Linked DNA regions of Homo sapiens: all the other regions are linked to region 3. The links are contacts of gene promoters, found by promoter capture Hi-C in human tissues and cell types (Jung and others, 2019). All regions are on one chromosome and are shown on one strand. Each heading gives the region's core, a stretch centred on a gene start or on the middle of the fragment in contact. The rest is flanking DNA. Distances are from core to core; before and after follow the strand shown. Region 1 has its middle 61 kb from the start of PLCH1-AS1. Region 2 has its middle 70 kb from the start of STRIT1. Region 3 holds the start of GMPS (guanine monophosphate synthase). Region 4 overlaps PLCH1 (phospholipase C eta 1).

Region 1 (3,418 bases), core at 735-3,234, 480 kb before region 3:
TTCCCACTGCACAGAAAAGAGAATCGACCCTCAACCCTGGAGGCGTTATCTTGGTTGGTGGCAGCAGTGCTTTGCTGGTTCCCCTCCTTGCTCCCCTGCTGTCTGACAGCATTTGGAGCCCCTCTGGTGCTCTCCTTGAGAGCCATTAGAATCCATAATTTAAACACAAGAGCGTTTTTGATAGAAAAAGGAGTAATGCTTGATTTAATTTTATTGCCATCGGTTTCACTGGGAAAAGGGAAGTGGGGAGGGGAGGGGAGGCCGCACTTCTTCCCCACAAGCAATGACATCTGCTGCTGGCGGGGAAAATGCCCAGAGCGGTGCCTTTCCATGCAATTACTCCTGGGCATAAAAAGAAAAACAACCTTCTTTTCCTTCCCAATCTGCCAGTCTCTTCCGAATCTCTGGAAACAAGCTCTCTTCGATTGGGCAATTTGACAGGCTGTCCTGCTACAAACATCAGCTGTCACAGGCATAATGCAACAAGAAGGGAAGGCTCTAGGGCCAAGCAGAAGTAGTCAGGACAGCTCAAATGTAGCCAGCAAAGGGAATCTCCGGGTAAGCATGATGGAGTGCCTCAGATGGGTCTCGAGAGTCTGCCTATATTTCAATGTCTGTTTTCACATGGAGAATTCATGGGTTACACACAAATCTCATCTCCTTGAAAAAACAAGAACAAGAAGGGAGCAAAAAATAGATGGATGCATCTAAACCAATGTCATTGAAATTCTTAATCAAATAAAGTCATAAAAATCACTGTACCGTCCAAAGGTCCCCAGCTCGTACCCTCCCTGACACTCTTTCAATTTAGCCATGAGGAGGGTGTAGGTCTCCTGTAGGGAGAGAGCCAGGTAACTTCTCCCACTGCCTTGCCAAACTGCAGACCCTACAGTGGTCTGGTCAGGGCCACACATCCCGCTGGAAAGTCAATTTGGACTTCACTAAGTACATCATATTCCAAAGTGAAAGGATGAATTGTGGTGTGGCATGAGACAGTGAGCAAGTCCTTCAGTGGTTTGTGCAGACGTATGTACTGAAGGCCACACAAGCTGTCTGCCAGACCCACTTCCTGCTCTGGGATTCCAGCCACACTCACCTGGTTAACTATTTGGTACCACACCACCCTGCTACAGCTGCTTGGACCAGGGAGGCATGCCTGCCTGAAAAATAGCCTAGGAAGAGGCTTGCCTCAAGTAGAGCCGCCAAACAGGCACAATTGTGACCTAATTGAGCTGATCAGATCTCATTGCTTAGATGATTTGAGAGTCCAGCATTAAAAAAAAAAAAATAGCAATTGTTAGAGGAAATAAAAACATCCTCTTTACCAACAGGCAGAAAAAGTTCATATCAAATCACCAGAGTACCAAAAAATTATTTTGTAAAGAATTAATACTTGTTTTATTTTGAAAAGCATTAAAATAATCATCACAGGGAAAAAATTAAAACTTTTTCTAGACATATATTTTTTCTTAATATCTGTTTAATCTCTGCTGCATATTTTTAAATGTTATTTTATTATGGTAAGAAAATGACATGAGATCTACTTTCTTAATTAATGTTTAAGTGTACGATACATTGTCATTTACTTTAGGTACAATGTGGTACACCAGATCTCTAGAGCTTACTCATCTTGCTTAACTGAAACTTTATCGGCATTTATTTTGAAATTCGAGAGAGGGAGGAGAGAGTAGCCTATAGATACTCTGGTCTAAATGTCTTGATCTAAGCCTGAAAAAGTACACAGAGAGGGAGCAAGAATAGAAGCCAGGAGTAGGAGAGAAGGAGAATATTGAGCTACCAGAAGACCAGAGCAGCAGCAGTCAGAAACTCTCTGAGCCTCCATGGTGAGCAGGGAGCAGAGAAAGGGGACTCAGACGCCTGCTTCTGAGACACCTGCCTGAATTCCCGTGGTGCCCCAGAGCTGCTGCTGTGGCTTGGTGGTCTAAGCTTCCCTTACCCCCATGTTGCCTTGCTGCAAACTCCTACTTCCTAAACTTCAGTTTGTCTTTGCTTCTTGAAACCTAAAAAAGCCTAACTAAGGCCTCAATCATACTAGCAAATAAAAGAAATTCATTCAGATATTATTACCAAAGCCAAAGGTCAGGTACTTTAAAGGGAATGGACAGGATATCATGATTTGTGTGGTTCAACTGAGAAGCTTAATCCAACAAGAGCTTCAAGATGGAAGATAGACTTTGCAGAAGAACATGGAGTAAATTCAGAAGACAGACACGAGGATGAACATATGCAAACCATGTCCTAAGCAGGCAACCTCCGGGGAGTTAGGGATGTACAGCCTGCAGAATAGAAAACTCATGAGGCTCATGATAGATGATGTCAAGTGGAAGAAGGGCTGGAATTGTTTCATGTGCCAAAGATAGAAGAATATGGGAGTAAAGGTTTTAGTTCAATGTTAGGAAAAGCTTTCCAAAAATCTGAACTTCATGAGAAGATGGGGTGAGTTGTTTGTCAATGAAAGTGTTCAAGGAGAAACTCAGTTTTTAGACTCTCAATTTAGGTAAGATTCAATTAGAAATATCGCGTTCATTGTGATAAGAAAAGATAATACAAGGTAAAGAACCCTAAAGTTGAAAATTAAGTGAATGCAGCAACAAGTCAAATATATTGAACAAACTTGTAGCTAATCTGAGATTGATAAATGGTAATCTTCAGACTGCTGGGGTGAAAATATTCTTGCCTAGAAATTCTGCATTTATTGGACTTGGGGATATTGTCATTATTCTTTTATTGCCATCGAGGTGGACAATCACTATCTGTCTTTATTTAGCCTTAACAAATCAAATAAGAGAATGTTTTATGCATCAAATTTTTTTTAGTTATCAGTTGATAAAATCAAGGGATAGAATATTAGAAGAAACCCTTGGAAATCTAGGACAATCTGACATGATCGCATGATTATTTTTCTCTTCTTCAGGGAACAAATGAAATTTAATAGACTATAACCATTATTCATAAGTTACAAGAATGTCTATGTGCCTTTTTTTTCCAGAAGATAAATATATTGAGGGAGGAGAAAATGTAATACCTGCCAAATATCTTTCTCAAAGCTCTTTCTTAGAAGACTCTGCTGACTTCCTCTCTATAGTTCTTCTAGAGAAGAGAAATAATCTCATCTCCTATTGACCTGAATGAGCTGAGAGGGTTACTATTAATGGATACAATAGACTTGAAACTTCTGCTCTGAAGGGAGATGTAAAAAATAATCAGCCTACCTCTCTGCAACTACTGTTCCCTGCAGGAACAGCCACTTCATTTCTGCCAAAGATTTGAGGACTACAAGCAAAACCTTTCTACTACATCCCATCACTAAGCAAGTTCTGCCACCTTGGGTTGCAAGACTATTCAGATCTTCTTAAAACCTTACTTTTGGCAGAAAGCTGGAAGGAAAGTAGATAAT
Region 2 (3,373 bases), core at 609-3,108, 510 kb before region 3:
GAGAATCGCTTGAACCCAGGAGGCAGAGGTTGCAGTGAGCTGAGATTGCACCACTGCACTCCAGCCTGGGTGACAGAGGGAGACTCTGTCTCAGAAAAGAAAGAATTCCCACCCATGAGGGGCTTTTGTTGTCTCAATCCTTGTTGCCTGATTAGGCCTGGGAAAGTCCAATCCCAGGGGGGTATACCCAGTGTCACAAATTAACAAGCCTGTGACTGGCAAGCCCCCACAAATTTGTGGGATACTAGAGGCACCATACATATGCACAGACATCATCCTTAACCATCTGTGGAAGGAGAGTCTTTTGTTATTTAACTTATTTCTGGGAGTAAATTTTTGAGGGTTTCATATGATGCTGCATCTTCTGCACCCATTTTTAAAACGCCACTTATGTCCATGGTGTTCCTTCCATTAAAAATGTCTGTTGGCTTGAGTCGCTTATGAAATAAACAAAAGGACTATATTTAAAAGAAAACTTTTTAGAGAGCTCTTATCTTAAATAGCCATCTTATTGGTATCTATGAAAAAATACAAAAGAAATATAGCCTTTAAAATTCTATTGGCAAGATTCCAAAATGGCAGAAATCAGATTTAAAACAAAGTTAAAACCCTGTGTATACACACACTGCCTGCTTTGGATTCCCTGTGGGATATGCAAAAAGGGCAATCCAGCCTGTATTCTAGTGGCGAGGATTCCATGCTTTCACATCCACTGCCCAGGTTTGATTCCCAGACGGAGAACCAGTCCCTTAGAGATGTAAGTCCTTTAACCCAGGAGGTAAAAAGAAACATTTATAAGTAAGGAGAGCAAAGATCACCTAGTGACCATCAAGCAGGCCATTAAGAGACAAAAAGAAAAATTCCTTATTTGAGGAATTTAGAAGTAATTAGACTTCCCTATTATCTAAAGTCAGCACCTGGTTCCAGGCCTCTTTTCAACTTAAAATTTACAGGAAACTAGAATGTCTATACACCTCCAGAATGCATGCATGCCGAACTGCCAAACTCATTGTGCAATCCTTACCGACATTAAGGCACCAAGATGTCTACAAATGTAATCGTTTATCATGCAAATTACCCTTCAGCTTCCGCTTTAAGGTCTCTAAACACCTCTAAAGAAAAAGCCACCATGCTGTGCTCAGTCCTCTCTTGCTGAGGCCCCCCGCTGCACTCTTCTGCAGCGTTCCTTCTTTCTAAAAAATATTTCTGTTTTCAAACCCATACCGTTGTCAGTAAATTCTTACCAACCCACAAGTCAACCACTTTCCAATGCCAGGGCTCTGACACCTCGCCCAGCAATAAGAATTAGTTTGGATTACTTATTTTGAATTTATATTTGTGTGACTCTTGACTTTCTGATGTACTCATTTCTTATTGATTCTTTTCCCTTTCCCTTCCATGGATGGCTATTGTTTTCCTGTTTGTCTCTAAGTCTCTTTTTTTTTCATCTAGTAGCTGCTAGACCCAGGGGGTAATTCTGGGTCTTGTGAGGACTGCTTTTTTACACGTTTTTGGAGATGCCTCATGCATCCTTGGTTAAGGTTTTCGTTCTCAGTCACTGGGAAATTACCTTTGGTTTAAAAGAAAAGACAAAAAGTTCAAAAGCCAGGAATATTGGCTTTGTTCTGGCTAAAACTGATAATGAGAGATTCAAAAGATTCTTTGAATTCTATGAGCAAAAGTCAGCTTAAGCAAAGCTGATACTCAGATTATACATATTTTTAGACATTTCTGTTCTCCTTTGGATCCCATTTCTCCCATGGGGATTTTTTTGATCCAACTGAAACCTCTTTTTAATTGTACGTGCGTTCCTTCTGCTTGTTTCCTTTTTTGGCAAGATTTTTGCTTAAAAAGATGTAAAATTTAATTGGCCTTTTTTTGAAAGTTTGAGATCTCCCCACACTGGCTCCTCTAGGACTCATTCTTCCACTTGCTCCTACCCCTGTTTTTGCTATGATCTTCCATTCATTTCCCCTTAATCATTGATATGTGCCCCTTCAAGCCCCTACTTTCTTCATCTGGTGGTCAATGGATGAAAAATTACTAAGAGGAAATATGAGAGTCTTGGTTGTCACATAAAAGAATCTGAAAGAAACTTCTAGTAACTCTCATACCTCTTTGAGAAAGAGAGCTAAGGTATCACTGGCCCCTTTTTAGGTCCTCTGTCTTCCTCACAGAACCCAAAGAGTCATGAGTGGGTCTGGCCCTGTTTGTTAATGGGCTCTGGCGTGAGCAATAATCCAGTTAAGAAACGGAAACTAAGTTTAAAGGCCACCTATCAAACTAAATATCCAAAGTACAACCTTCTGGCCTTCAGCTGGCTATTTTAAAACTCTTGGTAAAAGAAATGTTTATTTATAAAGAGAATCTCAATTTGTAAGGGTCTCTCTCTCTCCCTCTCTCTGCAACTAAACCACTAGAAACTTTTACAATGGGAAAGGCATTGACTTAAAAGTTTACATAACAAATCTTACCTTTGTCTAAAGTAGTTTTTCTGGCTGTCTTGCCTTAACTTAACTGAGCCTTACCTATGTCATTCTCTGTCTTGGCAAATAATGTTTAGATCTAAGTTCTGTATCTTTGAGATATAAATGTTCCACCTTATTTCACCTAAGAGTCAGTACAGATTTAGGACTGCCTAGCTAACAATTGCTTAGGGCAATGAAACAGGTAATCAGAAGGTTGATGGTATGAATGGGGGAAAGAAACTATTTGGAAACTGGCTAATGAAAGATATAAGATCTGCTTCTGTCTATGTGTCCATATGTCTGTCTATGTATCTTATGTGTATGTAATATTTCTATGTGATCTGAGATATTATCTGGTAAATAAAGCTAGTTTTAAAATTTTTGGTAAAATAAAATAGTGTATTCAGAATTGTCAGTATTAAATATAATTCAGACATTTTTGCCTGAGTCTATTGGTCAGATAGGTTTATGCTGTTTGTGTCACATGTTTTAAGGTCATAAAACTGCTACTTCTATAATGTTTTTGGTACTTGCTTGATTTGTCTGTAAGCTAAAGCTGTGAGGGCTGGCTGGTGGGCCCCTCTGAAGTGTCGCACACATCTTGCTGTAAGCATATATCTTTGGGTTTGAGCCTTTGGATTCTAGAGTCTGGATAGGTGACTATGGTGAAGCTTGAGGATATATGTGTGTTCAGAGAACCTAGGCCACCAGCTGTCACCTTCACAGCTCTGTCCACTGTCCTGGGTTCTACACTTGGAGTTTGAATCCAGGATTCAGATGAGCCCTGCCCTTCATAGCCATCCTGGGTGCATGTGGGTACTCAGGACCCAGAACAGCTAGGGAGGACATTAGGAATGGTACCTGTGTCATCATTTCAAAATTCTTTTTAGTAATTTAAAATCTTA
Region 3 (3,362 bases), core at 799-3,298:
TGTCAAAGTGCTGGGATTACAGGTGTGAGCCACCGCACCTGGCCAACAAGTCTGTATTTTTAAACAAGTGCTCCAAGGAAGAGTAAGATGAGAAAAGGATTAGGAATAGAAATACTGAAGAAATCCAACACTTAAAGCTCCTGAAGGCCAGACATAGGAAAAGGAGCTAGCAAAGGCAACCAAGAGCAATCACAGAGATAAAAAGACAACTTTTTGGTGCATTTTAAGGAAAATCCAGTTTCAACAAAGAGGGATGGGTCAATAGAGTCAGAAGCTAAAGAAGAAAGAATATCAGGATCCTATATTGTGTGCATGCCAACATTCTTAGCCATTAAGCACAGGTGACCACTAGAATTTATTTATTTATTTGTTTATTTTGAGATGGAGTTTCGCTGTTGTCACCCAGGCTGGTGTGCAATGGCATGATCTTGGCTCCCTGCAACCTCCACCTCCCGGGTTCAAGCGATTCTCCTGCCTCAGCCTCCCGAGTAGCTGGGATTATAGGCGCATGCCACCACGCCTGGCTAATTTTTGTATTTTTAGTAGAGACAGGTTTCATGATGTTGGCCAGCCTGTTCTGGAACTCTGACCTCAGGTAATCCACCCGCCTAGGCCTCCCAAAGTGCTGGGATTACAGGTGTGAGCCACCACGCCCAGCCTAGAATATATTTAAACTAAGCATTGTTTAAGATAGATGGGACTTAGCCAATCCTTAATGCCAGTATATCACATCACATTCCACTCCATTAGGGGTGGATGTTTATGTAAGTTGAGGTTCTCCTATTGGTTACTGCACTCTTCTTTAGATTGTGCATACAGACCTACCCAGAGAAGCCAGTATCCATGGCTTTGGAGAGTTCAAATATTCAATTTTCCGTTCAAAAAAAGGTAAGCGAAATACTTAAGTCTCAGGCCCACTAGGACCTTAAGCCTTTCGTTTTTGTAAATATTTCACTAATAAACTGTCTACACTTTCCCAGATTGGGCAGGCCTTACATTCTATATATACTGAGAGGCACATTATCTCACTAAGCCTCAATTTCCTCATTTGTAAAAAGGATAAGAACATCAATCCTACCTTACTACTTTCACGGGATTGGTTAAAGTTAGCTTTTAAAGTATTTTCTCACTCTGGCTCCTTAATACCCTAGCTACAGTCTGACACAAGAATGACTGCAGCAAAATGTTGGCTGTATTATAATAAAAATATTTGTGGAAAGGCTTTGTTAGCTGGAAGCCATCTCAAGTATTATTCTTTATACCCCAATCTCGATTTAGGCCTCTAGGTAACCAAATTCAAAGTAACACCTCATCATCATGATGGTTGCCAAGGGGTAGGTGGAGGGACTGCAGCCCCTTCCCCACAAACAATTCCAATAAAAACACTGTTGTGCAAACAGAGCTTCACGACCAGTTCCCTGGGCCAGCTGCTCACCAGATTACCACTCCCAAACTCCCTTTTCTTTGGAAATACTGCACCTGCTGTATTTGTGGGGAGCTGTATAACTTTTGAAGTATCTAAGTGATCAGTTCCTACAATGACATCCTTGAGATATGGCCACGGAACTTTCCAAAGCAGCCTTGGCCTCCTTCATGTCCAGCAACCTGAGATAAGGCCACGCCACCGGCTAAGAGTTCCGCCAGGGGCCCAGCTCTCAGGAGGCCTCTTCGGTGCCGCCAGCCTCCCGAAGTCATCCAAGGTAGCAGGCAAATCCGGCAGCAGCAAACTAGCTCGGATTCGGCTTCGGTTTTTCTCCTGGCCGGCGCCACAGGCCCCTCCTCCGGGGCGGGCTCCTCGGTGCGAGGGCAGGAGGGGCGGAGCCGGTGGATGCCGCGGGCTCCTCCTCCCAAGGGCGGGCCGCGGGAGACCCGGCCGGCTTTGCCGGCGGGGACCGGGCTGGGGGCGGGGCCGGGCGCCGCGAGCCCCTCCTCTCGAGGGCCGGCCGGTTTGGCGGCGGCTGCGGAGGGTATCTGAGGCTCGGCTGCCAAGCCGAACGGGCTCTGGCTCCTCCCAGTGGCCGGCCGGGGCGGAAGCAGGAGGCGGGGGCAGCGTGCGCGCTGCTGGTCTTCTCTCCCGCGGCGCTGGGGCCCGCGCTCCGCTGCTGTTGCTCCATTCGGCGCTTTTCTGGCGGCTGGCTCCTCTCCGCTGCCGGCTGCTCCTCGACCAGGCCTCCTTCTCAACCTCAGCCCGCGGCGCCGACCCTTCCGGCACCCTCCCGCCCCGTCTCGTACTGTCGCCGTCACCGCCGCGGCTCCGGCCCTGGCCCCGATGGCTCTGTGCAACGGAGACTCCAAGGTCAGCGTGGGGGTCCCTGCAGCACCGCATCCCGGCGGAGGCGAGGCTCCCGGACCGGGGAGCCACCCCGCGAGGCCCTTCCCCACCCCCTTCCCCCAGCCCGTCCGCGCAGCCCTGCGCCCCGGGCAGCCACGCGTCGTAGAGTCCCTGGTCGGGGCCTGTGGCATGTTTTATCTCGGGAGCGGCGATGCTTTGTTGATCTTGTCTGCGTGTCGAGGTCCGGGCGTCGGGGAGGGCATCAGCTCCCCGCGGCCGCGTCGCTGGCCCCCGCCTCCCCCGCGCCGCTGTGGGGCGCAGAGCCCGCGAGCGCGGCGCGAGGGTGGGGGTAGGGCGGCGAGCGGGCTTGTGTGTCTGCGTGTCGGGGTGGGGGCTTCCTCGGCTCCCACCCCGTCCCTCTGGGAGGCTGGGGGCCCGTTGTGGCGATCCCGGGGCCCGCCGAAGGCAGGGCAGGGTCGGGGCCTCCTGTGCGGCGTTGGAGCTGGGCCGGCCTCTGGTCTTCCCGCCACCCCGTTTCCCGCCTGCCCTCGGCGAGGCCCGCTCCATTCCCCCCGCCAGCCTTGGGCTCCGCGGCGGTTAGGCCGGTTCTGGACGAACCCCTCGGAGCTGCACTGTCTTCCCCCTCCCCCAACGCCCCTGCAGGCCCGCGTGAGGGCTGGTGGCCCCAGGGTCGCGCACTCCGTTCTCCCTCCCCGCTTCCTTCTCAGAGAGGAAAGGGTGTGTGTCCAGGTCCCGCCCCCGTCCAGCTTGCTCCCTGTCGAGCTTGCTGGTTTGCGGGGTAACCCGCTTCCCCGCCTTTGGGGTCCCTCCCCGGGACGCGAGCCGTGCCAGCTCGCCCGAGGCCTGGGCAGTCCGGAGTTCCGGAGTGCTGGAAAAGTTGCCGCCTTGACGTACCCGGCGGGGAGAGCACGTTTGACCGCTGCTGCTCATCTCTCCTCCAACTCACTTTTCTTAGACCGTTCCTCTTACTTTCGTCCCGCTTTTGAATTGGGCACCTTCGCTTTCACCTCTGTATTAAAATTTTCATTGGCCTGGAGTTCTTTCTGACCTTCACTAAGTCAGTTTTGCC
Region 4 (3,697 bases), core at 288-2,787, 320 kb before region 3:
GTTACAATCCTAGTGACAGTATTTGCGATACTGATGATGGTTAAAATGCTTCTAAAATGAGAAAGATTAGAAATGCATTTAAAAAATTCCTCTGAGCAAATATACTTTGCTAAGCATAATGGATGAACAAAATACCAATCCACATGGGATGGCTTTTCTAATATTTTGCATCAGGAAACAATGGTAGATATATTATGTTTCTTTTAAAAGAAGAGAAAATTTTAAAAGAGATGAGAAGTCTAAAGAAAGTAAACTCATATAATGTAATTTTGTCTTATTTATTCAAAAGTCTAACAGCTTCTAAGAGACCACTGAATGTCATTAAATGAAGCTATTGACTCTAAAATATATAATTAACCCCCACCTTGAAAATTATGATTGAGGATAAAATAACATAAGGGAATTCTGTGTTTTATAGCATCCTACGTCGCACATTTCAAAATCACTTTGATAGAATTATATACTAGTCTTTGTCAAAAAATAAAAATAAAAACCAGCCAAGCATTCATTCTACACCAGCACTCAGGTTTCTGCACAGAAAACATGAGATCCATGTAAATAATTACCTAAAGGAGTTGGTGGCTAAGGCAGAAAGGAGATCAGGGCTGATTACATGATTTTACTCCTCTCTCAACCTTATTTTTTCCTCAGAATAAGAAATTATTTCAAATTCAGGTTCATTGACTTTTTTCTAGTTTTCCGTTACATGTCTTCAGACATAATAGGCAATATATTTAAATCACCTAATATATCAACATATACCAATATTTAAATCACCTAATATATCAATGTGCAGAAAAACTTTTTCCAGGCTTTCATGACAAGCACAAGTTCCACAATACGGGCTATGACCGCCAGACCTACCTTCTCTCCTCATTAGTAAAACCTGATGCTGTGGGCCATCTTACAGATGAGCCTTTGTGGCTGAGGTAGGTTTCCTTACTCGACTACAATCTGTTTGCTATTCATTTCTTCACATAGGTTTTACCCTAAAGTGCTAGAAGAGGGAAAAGCAACAGCAACAACAAACTGACAACCCTGAGTTGTCCTGCAGTCACATCAGGGAGTTTTAACAAGGAATTTTCACATTGTCAATTCATTTACAAAAAATCTATTAGTGGCAGGGAGTGGTGGCTCATGCCTGTAATCCCAGCACTTTGGGAGGCCGAAGCAGGCAGATCACTTGAGGCCAGGAGTTCGAGACCAGCCTGGGCAATATAGTGAAACACTGTCTCTACTAAAAATACAAAAATTAGCCAGGCATTGTGGCACGTGCCGGTAATCCCAGATACTCAGGAGGCTGAGGCAAGAGAATCGCTTGAACCCAGGAGGCGGAGGTTGCAGTGAGCTGAGATCATGCCACTGCACTCCAGCATGGGCGACAGAGCAAGGCTGCCTCAGAAAAAAAAAAAAAAAAAAAAAAAAAAAAAAAAAAAAGCCTAATTAGTGCTTGATGATGTTTAGTGTAAAGCTGTGCTTCTCAACAGGGAACGAGGCAATTATTCCCCCCAGTACAGGAGACGCTTGTCAATATCTGAAGACATTTTTGGTGGTCACACTTCAGGGGTGCTATTGGCACATAATGAATAGAAGCTGAGGATGTTGCTTTCCACCCTACGCTGCACAGGACAGCTCTCTACCAAAAAAAAAAAAAAAAAAAAAAAATTATCAGTACACAATGTCATTAGTGCCAAGGTTGAGAAACCCTGATATAAAGATGCAACCAAAGTTAAGAAAGGAGAGGAAAAGGCTGAACTTTTAAAATGTACTAAACAAGTTTATTAACTCTTTTAATTTGAAGTGCTTTTCTTCTAAGAGTTCCCAAACTTGAAGTAAATTGTCAAATCACCAGAGGATCTTCCAAGATACATAGGTGGCAGGCCTTCTCAACACCCTACTTCATACATTGGGAAATAAAGGCAAAATTACTTCACCCATTTGGCTAGGACCTGTAGAAATCAGGGTTGTAAAGACCCATTAGAATGCAGTGTTCAAGATTCTTCCACGTGGGAGGCATCATAAACTAAATCTGCTATACAGCAAGTGTGTCTTATTAGAAAAGCATTTTTAACCTCATGTTTAATTAATGAGAAGACCAAATATTGGAAATTTTAAAGGCTACTAACTTCTAAAAAATTAATTTTACACAATTGTAATTTTAATTTGTTTCCTTTAATTCAAAAATCCTTTCTTGAATAGCTGGTATACTGAAGGTACCTGCTAGGCAACAAAAATGAATACAAAATAATAAGAGATTGCTCATATTTTCAGTGAGTTCACAGTCTTACAGATGTAAAAGAAGGCAAGTAACCAACCAATTGCAAGAGGGTGCTATATGATATGACAGAAATATGTGCAGGGTGCTAAATACAGAGAAAATATGGAGAAAAAGAAGATTTAAATCAGCTGGTGGTATTAGTAACTTGTTGGAGGGACAATACTTAAACGGCCTTGTAGAATAAGCAACAATTAATCAGATAGACTAACGGGGAAGGTTGTTCCAGGCAGAGAGAACAGCATACGTAAGAGTGGGGAGTTGAGAAAGAGCCAGGCTCAATAGGGAAGCTGAAAGACAGTCATTGAAGGCAGAATCCTAAATCTCTGTGGAATAATGGTGGAAGATGATAGTGGAAGACAAGGGAGATGCCAGACCTTAAGGGATATGAAGACATGCCTGTGTATTGAGAGAGCTTCTGACAGGCTTTAAGACAAGAATTGAATCACCATGCTCATATTTCAGAAAGAAAATTATAGCACCAGTGTTGAGGATGAACCAAAGGGGAAATAAAAATGAACAGGAGGCAATGGAGTCAAAAGATAACTTGGGAAGTAGAATTGCCAAGAATTGGTTGAGTCTAGAATGACTCCCAGTTTCTGGCTGAGGCCAGTGCTGCCCCTAACTATTAATAAGAGGAAATGGAGCGAGAATCAAGAGGAAGTTTGGCAGAATGAGATGCTGAGTTCCCCTTGGGGAGTAAGCTCCTTAATGGCAGGAGTCTTATCTTCTGCTCACTGTTGTGGCTCCCCACACCTATGGGATACTCAGATGAATATTCACTGAGGATTTTTATTTTTATTTTTATTTTTCTGAGATGGAGTCTCACTCTGTCACCCAGGCTGGAGTGCAGTGGTGCAATCTCAGCTCACTACAACCTCCACCTTCTGGGTTCAAGCAAATCTCATGCCTCAGCCTCCCAAGTAGCTGGGATTACAGATGTGTACCACTACATCCACCTAATACTTGTATTTTTTTAGTAGAGACAGGGCTTCGCCATGTTGACCAGGCTGGTCTCAAACTCCTGGCCTCACGTGATCCACCCTCCTCAGCCTCCCAAAGTGCTACAGGAGCCACCGTGCCCGGCCTCACTGAGTATGTTTCAACATGGGCCTAGAACTTGAGGGGAAAGTTCTGGACATAGAATTTGATAAATATCCAGAAAGTGATCTAGGGCAAAACCTTAGAAAACAGTTAACCATTAGAGGAATGAGGAAATAGATTAACAGAAGACTGCAGTACAAAAAAAAGAGATTGAGAAGCAACGAGAGCAATGGAGGGGAGAATGATATAATGGAAACCAAAAAAGGCAAGTAGTGGGGAGGAAATATTCAACACTGTCAAATGACAAGGAGAGGGTCAAGTAACATAAGGACTCCAGACACCTCAGTGTATAGATAAGACATCCATCATGATCAGAAC

Evidence for each region. Contacts are between HindIII fragments. The study calls those that stand out against the background at their distance.
Region 1: a contact is called between a fragment that was not itself captured here and the fragment with the promoter of GMPS in region 3, in 1 of the 25 tissues and cell types used here (mesendoderm cells).
Region 2: a contact is called between a fragment that was not itself captured here and the fragment with the promoter of GMPS in region 3, in 1 of the 25 tissues and cell types used here (mesendoderm cells).
Region 4: a contact is called between a fragment that was not itself captured here and the fragment with the promoter of GMPS in region 3, in 1 of the 25 tissues and cell types used here (mesenchymal stem cells).

Annotation. Positions count from the first base shown.
Region 1 is chr3:155,386,725-155,390,142 of GRCh38, forward strand. No RefSeq gene overlaps it. Among named protein-coding and RNA genes, the nearest start is that of PLCH1-AS1, 61 kb to the right of the region's middle. The HindIII fragment of the contact is 3,607 bases long and covers 182-3,418 here.
Region 2 is chr3:155,362,424-155,365,796 of GRCh38, forward strand. No RefSeq gene overlaps it. Among named protein-coding and RNA genes, the nearest start is that of STRIT1, 70 kb to the left of the region's middle. RefSeq lists enhancers at 377-1,055, 1,056-1,733. The HindIII fragment of the contact is 4,184 bases long and covers 1-3,373 here.
Region 3 is chr3:155,868,602-155,871,963 of GRCh38, forward strand. GMPS (guanine monophosphate synthase) reads left to right here and starts at 2,049. Exons shown (of 16, transcript NM_003875.3): 1 at 2,049-2,296. The coding sequence starts at 2,270. RefSeq lists enhancers at 1,494-1,543, 2,083-2,842 and a silencer at 1,684-2,903. The HindIII fragment of the contact is 29,940 bases long and covers 1-3,362 here.
Region 4 is chr3:155,550,044-155,553,740 of GRCh38, forward strand. All of the region lies in intron 9 of PLCH1 (phospholipase C eta 1), which reads right to left. Among named protein-coding and RNA genes, the nearest start is that of PLCH1-AS2, 66 kb to the left of the region's middle. The HindIII fragment of the contact is 4,599 bases long and covers 1-3,697 here.